2 separate regions of the Homo sapiens genome follow, and region 1 is linked to region 2. The links are contacts of gene promoters, found by promoter capture Hi-C in human tissues and cell types (Jung and others, 2019). All regions are on one chromosome and are shown on one strand. The core of a region is centred on a gene start or on the middle of the fragment in contact, and the rest is flanking DNA. Distances in the headings are between cores, read along the strand shown. Region 1 has its middle 7.3 kb from the start of BRD3OS. Region 2 holds the start of ADAMTSL2 (ADAMTS like 2).

Region 1 (3,254 bases), core at 704-3,203, 480 kb before region 2:
TCAGGGCAACTTGCATGCTCCGGGTTGCAGCCCTCAAGCTTGGCCCAAATAAACTCTCTACTTACATTAATTTTTCCTCAGCTTCTTCCTTTTAGGTTGCAAACCAAAAATAAAATCCTGGCCAGCCATGTTGGCTCATGCCTGTAATCCCAACATTTTGGGAGGCCAAGGCGGGTGGATTGCTTGAGCCCAGGAGTTCAAGATCAGCCTGGGCAGCATGGTAAAACCCCTTTTTAAATAAAAATACAAAAAATTAGCCAGGCATGATGGTGTGTACCTGAAGTCCCAGTTACTTGGGAGGCTAAAGTGGGAGCAATGCTTGAGCCCGAGAGGTCAAGGCTGCAGTGAGCTGTGGTTGCACCACTGTACTCCAGCCTTGGCGACAGAGTGAGACCCTATCTCAAAAAAGTTTTAAGGGCCAGGCACGGTGGCTCACGCCTGTAATCTCAGTACTTTGGGAGGCCAAGGTGGGCAGGTCACCTGAGGTCAGGAGTTTGAGACCAGCCTGACCAATATGATGAAACCCTGTCTCTACTAAAAATACAAAAATTAGCTGGGTGTGGTGGCGGGCACCTGTAATCCCAGCTACTTGGGAGGCTGGGACAGGAGAATTGCTTGAACCCGGGAGGTGGAGGTTGCAATGAGCCGAGATCACACCATTGCACTCCAGCCTGGGAGACGAGTGAAACTCCGTCTCAAAAAAAAAAAAAAAAAAAAGCTTTAAAAAAATAAATAAATAAATAAAAATCCTAAGCCCCTGGTGGACTGAACAGACCCCTTCTTGGCTAAGGGGACCCCAGAGAAACCTGAAAAACAGCATTCCTGGCCATGACAAGAAGGGAGGCTGGACATGTCTCGTTCTCCCCTCTCCCTTTTGGAGTTTAGGCACCACTGGCCAGCATCATTAAAATAGAGGTCGTGAGACTGACAAAACAGACTTTTTTTTTTTTTTTGAGACAGAGTCTCTGTTGCCAGGCTGGAGTGCAGTGGCGTGATCTCAGCTCACTGCAACCTCTGCCTCCTGGGTTCAAGCGATTCTTCTGCCTCAGCCTCCCGAGTAGCTGGGACTACAGGCGTGCGCCACCATGCCCAGATAATTTTTGTATTTTTACTAGAGATGGGGTTTCAACATGTTGGCCAGGATGGTCTCGATCTCTTGACCTCGTGATCCACCTGCCTTGGCCTCCCAAAGTACTGGGATTACAGGCGTGAGCCCCCGCGCCCTGCCAAAACAGACTCTTTATGGCAACAAGATACCAAATTCCAACCAGACCCTTGTATAGCACCACATGACAGATAGCAGACCCTGAAGGAAAGGAAAATATTTTACCTCAAAATATATTTCTTTATTTTTTTGAGATGGAGTCTCGCTCTGTCGCCCAGGCTGGAGTGCAGTGCCACGATCTTGGCTCACTGCAATCTCCACCACCAGGTTCAAGCAGTTCCCCTGCCTCAGCCTCCTGAGTAGCTGGGATTACAGGCGCCCGCCACCACGCCCAGCTAATTTTTGTATTTTTAGTACAGACGGGGTTTCACCATATTGGTCAGGCTGATCTCGAACTCCTGACTTCAGGTGATCCACTGGCTTCGGCCTCCCAAAGTGCTGGGGTTACAGACATGAGCCACCGTGCCCAGCCCCCAAATACATTTCTTTGACATATTTTGGAATGGCCCTGCAAAGCCGTCTTCTGTGGGGGAAATTTGCATCTGTAAAGAATCTCTATTAGGAGCCTGGCCTTTCCTTTCTAGGCGTTTCCCGGATTTAGGAGAAATTAAATGAGAGTCTAATACAGGTGGGTCTGATCTTTTTTTTTTTTTTTTTTTTGAGACAGAGTCTCTGTCGCCCAGGCTGGAGTGCAGTGACGTGATCTCTGCTCACTGCAAACTCTGCCTCCTGGGTTCACGCCATTCTCCTGCCTCAGCCTCCCAAGTAGCTGGGACTGCAGGCGCCCACCACCATGCCCGGCTAATTTTTTGTATTTTTAGTAGAGACGGGGTTTCACTGTGTTAGCCAGGATGGTCTCGATCTCCTGACTTTGTGATCTGCCCGCCTCGGCCTCCCAAAGTGCTGGGATTGCAGGCGTGAGCCACCACGCCCGGCCAGGGGGGTCCTATCTTGTGGAATCCCTAGGCCACGTTGGAAGAAGAAGAATTATCTTGGGCCATGCATAAAATACACTAACACTAACAATAGCTGATGAGCTTAAAAAAAATCACAAAAAAATCTCATTATATTTTAAGAAAATTTGTGAATTTGTGTTGGGCCACATTCAAAGCTGTGCTGGGCCTCTTGTGACCCATGGACCACAGGTTGGACAAGCTTGGTCTAACACCTTTAGGGTCTGAGAAGAGACATTCACCCTCTATTATCTCTAAGGCTGCTACTTGGAGGCTTCATCTACATAATAAGAACCTCGGTGTCCATAATCCCCTTATCTTAACTCAAGCATTTTTTTTTTTTTTTTTTTTTTGAGATAGAGTTTCACTCTGTTGCTCAGGCTGGAGTGCAGTAGCGTGATTTCGGCTCACTGCAACCTCTGCCTCCCGGGTTCAAGCTATTGTCCTGCCTCAGCCTCCCAAGTAGCTGGGATCACAGGCGTGTGCCACCATGCCCAGCATATTTTTGTATTTTTAGTAGAGATGGGGTTTCACCATGTTGGCAAGGCTGGTCTCGAACTCCTGACCTCAGGTGATCGCCCACCTCCACCTCACAAAGTGCTGGGATTATAGACTTGAGCCACCACACCCAGCCAACTCAAGCATTTCTTTCTACTGACTTCAAGTCTTTAGACAAAGCTTAACTCTTTCAACCAGTTGTCAATCAGAAATTCTTTGAATCTGCTTATGATCTGTAAGCCCCCCTCAGCTTCAAGACCTCCCACCTCTTTAGGCTGAACCAATGTAAACTTCCATGTATTGATTTATAATTTTACCTATATATCCTGTCTCTCTAAAATGTATAAAACCAAACTGTAACCCAACCACCTCGACTGCACTTTCTCCAGACCTCTTGAGACTGTTTTCTGGACCATGGTCACTCATTGGCTCAGAATAAACTTCTTTAAATATTTCACAGCTTTTTTTTTTTCCATCAACAAGGTTGACACAAGGTTGCTTGATGGAAAATTAATCTACAGAGTCAACTACTGTTCTAAATGACAGCAAAAAGCAGAAAACAAGTGTTTAAAAGATACCATTTACAGGCCAGGCGTGGTGGCTCACGCCTGTAATCCCAGTACTTTGGGAGGCCAAGG
Region 2 (3,535 bases), core at 73-2,572:
GAGGGGCAGGGCAGGAGGAGGTGCAGTTTGTGCCAGCATGTCAGCAGTCCAGGGCCACAAGGCTGACTTCCTCCCAACAGCCAGCACCCTTGGCTCAAAACACCTGCCAGGGGTCAAAGCAAGCCCATTGGAAGGGACTGTCCAGCCTCCAGGCCCTCAGCTCTCCCCACCCCCTCCTCAGCGTCGACCCTGCCCTGTGGAAGGGAAGACCAGAGATCCACCATGACCTCTGTCCAGGCCTTGCTCAGGTGCTGAGGGTCACTTGCCAGCGAGTTAGAGAAGGGATTTCAGAAACCACGCAGCCTGCACTCATAACCTGGAGCCCAGAGAGGGGAGCCAACCTGCTCAAAGCCACACAGCAAGGTAGCACACTAGCAAACTCAGGGACTCGACCCCCACGCCTGGCCAATTCCAGGGGAAGAAGGCATGGAGGTCACCCCTCACCCCTGCCAGGCCAGAGGCCAACTCGGGCTCTGCCCCTCCCTCCTCAGCAGCCTCCATCCAACTTGAAGAGTTTCCTTGCAGGCCCGGCACCTGCAGATTTTCAGGGGCCACTCCAAGGACACCACTGCAGCCCGGACGACGCAGCAGTGCACCCTGGAGTGGGGAGCCTGAGTCTGACCTCCCCTGCCCCCGCCGCCTGCCCCCCACCTCCCTCCCCTGCAGACCTCCATCTGCACTCTCAGCCTCACACCCACAGGAGCCCCCTCCACTGTGCCATTGGCTAACGGGTGCCCCAGCCTCTGCCTGCCGGCTGAAGACAGGTGCCAGCCGGCCTCACACTTGCTTTTTTCATTAAGGCTTCCAGACACCACTGGCTTCTGGCCAGGCCTCGCTCACGGGGATCCATCCCTCCCTGGGGTCCAAAAGCAGCGGCTGGCGGCAGCAGAGAGGTCTGCCGTGCACACAGAGCTCCGGGCGCACAAGGCTAGGTGCTGGGAGGCCACCCTGCCCCGTGCTCTGCGGCCCGACCCCTCCCCACAAGCCTCCCCACGTTATGTAACGGCTCCAGAGGGCGCGGGGTGCTCCTACCCCCAGCCCCACTCTGAGCAGTGGGCTGGCCTGGTGGACGCTGCAACGTGAGGGGGACGGGGACGAGGTGGCCTACCTGGCTTCGGGTCAGCAGGTTGTCCTCCCAGAGAAAGGGGCGAGCGCTGCGGAGGGCAGACGGCGCCAGGTGCGCTGTGCGTGCGGGGGCGGCGTGAGTGCAGAGGCTGCGGCCCGGCCTCCCTCTCCCCTTCCCCTCCTCCCCCGCGCCGCCTCCCTCTCCCACTTCAAAGAGCATCCAAGAGAGGGGGTTCCCGGGAGGGGCGCAGCCCAGTGGCGGCTCTGCGCCGGCGGCCGCCTTTATAGCTGTCAGGCAGACGGGGAGGAACACTCACACTTCCCACCAGGCCGCTCCCCCGCCCGCGCCGGCCGGCCTGGCGCACACTTTAACCCGCTCTGCGCCTCTGGAGCCCGGCCAGGCCGGCCCAGCTGCCTGTTGGCTGCTGCCGGCGGCGGCGGCCCAGGAGCGGCGAGCAGGGAGGCCTTCTTCCCGGGTCCAGAACTGGGGGCCACATGTCGGGTGTCCAGACGGAGCAGCCGCTGGCCTGAGGTTACCGGGGAGGCTGGCGGTGGCAAAGCCCCAGCCCCGCCTGTCCGGCTTCTGCCTCCAGAGCGGGCCCTGTCCCTGGGGCTCCTGAGAATGGGGTCTGGGATGTATGAGGTGTCCCGTCTGATGGCTCCGTTGTACGGAGGGAAAGGCTGAACTTCCGGGACGACCGTGCCCCAGGTCACGAGCCTCAGAAAGCTCCCGAGATGCAGGGGCCTAAGCAGGTGGAGGGACGCAGGGAGACCCAGCGAGAATGAACCAAGGGCTCCAGGGAGGAGACAGATGTGCCCGTGGCCTGCTGACCAGATGGCTAGAGCAGCCAGGGCCAGGGCAGAGAGGCTCAGGGATTCTGCAGATGTCCAGCACCAACTTGGCAGCCCCTGGCAGGCCAGGCCTGGAGCTCAAGCCTCTGTTCCTGCTGAGTCAGGGCACAGAGGGGAGCGAGAGTGGGTGGAGCAGCAGAGCCCCCCTGGGAAACTCCCGGCGGGCCCCAGACTTTGTGAGGCTTTCCTAAAGCAAGGCTGGGCACCTAGCCTCTGCACACCAGCTTCCCCAGAGCCCATCCTCGGCAAACAGAGGCACCTCCAAAAAGGGGAGGAGGAGGAAGCTGGGGCACCATTCCATCAGGTCATCTGTGTCTTTTCATCCATGCCCCTGCCTCCATGCAGCAGATGTCCTGGGCCCACAGCAGTGCCGGGAAGACACTTCTCCTTCCCTCTGTCCTCCCTGCTGGAAGAAACTTGTGAGTTCCTTCAGCTGCCTTCATGAGAAAGTTCTGCCCTGTGTCTGACCACCCACCAGAAAGGCTGGGAAGGAAAGCCACCAGTAATAGTAGTGAAAGCGATAATACCGTCTGCCCTCTGTCCAGCTTGTCCTACGGGCCCAGAGCTGTGAGGCCAGATCCACCTTTATGATCTGCATTTCACAGGTGGAAGAACTGAGGTTCGGGGACCAAGTCACCTCTCCAGTAGGCAAGGCTGGGATGCCAGCGCTCCTGAGTGTCGGGTTCTCTCCTCTGCCGGGTTGTTTAAGTTTCTCTCCCCGGGACCCTCGGGCAGGCAAGTCTTATTCATCTCATTCTCCTGCTGGGGCAACTGGGATGCAAGGTGGCTGCTCCTAGTCACAGGGCCACCTGCGGTGTGGAACCAGGACTAACCCTAACCCTAACCCAGGCCCACACTGCCCCCTGGGGTCGCTGTGCTGAATCACAGACATGGTGGCACCTGTCACCCAGCACACACACACACACACACACACACACACACACAGGCACACACACACCCAGTCCCTCTCACATGACCGGATTACACTCGCTCTGGGTGCCTCTGCCATCCCCTTCCTCTCTCTTCTGGTGACCGCCAGGCCTCGCACCCCTTGGCACAGTCCCCGAGCTCTCCTGGCGTTTGTGGCCTCACATCCAGCCAGCGCCAGGGTGACTAACGGTTTCCCTTGGGAGGGACCCCACAGCCGACCAACACAAACACCCCCAGTGTCTTCTCTTGGCTCAGCAGGACGGCACAGGCTGCAGGCTGGCCACCTGGGAGACGGGTCTGTGGGGCCAGCCATCCCCTGGCTCTGTGACCTCCTGCAGGTGTGTGACCCTCCAGGCCCCAGCTCCCCTGGCCAGCCACACTTCCACACCACCCCCACCCCTTACCCCAGAGCCTGCAGACTTGAGGCCCACAGGGAGCCATGACTGGCACGTAGCAGGTGCTCTGGTAGCTCCTGATGCCAGGGGCTCCTTACCCCTTAGAGAGTGCTGTTGAGGTGAGTCCCCCACTCTCCAGGATCCCTCTTCGGCCTGCAAATTCCCGGCCTCTCAGGGCCTTCCCCATGTAGGATGGTCTCAGCCCACACCTACCGGCACTTGTAGGGGTGTTGCAGCCGTATGGCCCTGGTGCTGGAGACACCACCTGCCTTTAGAAGGGGATTGTTGGCCAG

The links. The method cuts DNA at HindIII sites, captures the fragments that hold promoters and counts their contacts. A contact is called where the count stands out against the background at its distance.
Region 1: a fragment that was not itself captured here is called in contact with the fragment with the promoter of ADAMTSL2 in region 2 in 2 of the 25 tissues and cell types used here (lymphoblastoid cells and mesenchymal stem cells).

What each region holds. Positions count from the first base shown.
Region 1 is chr9:134,016,551-134,019,804 of GRCh38, reverse strand. No RefSeq gene overlaps it. Among named protein-coding and RNA genes, the nearest start is that of BRD3OS, 7.3 kb to the left of the region's middle. The HindIII fragment of the contact is 3,150 bases long and covers 379-3,254 here.
Region 2 is chr9:133,532,491-133,536,025 of GRCh38, reverse strand. ADAMTSL2 (ADAMTS like 2) reads right to left here and starts at 1,322. Exons shown (of 19, transcript NM_014694.4): 1 at 1,109-1,322. RefSeq lists enhancers at 1-293, 834-1,375, 1,376-1,915, 1,916-2,457 and a silencer at 2,716-2,805. The HindIII fragment of the contact is 7,890 bases long and covers 1-3,535 here.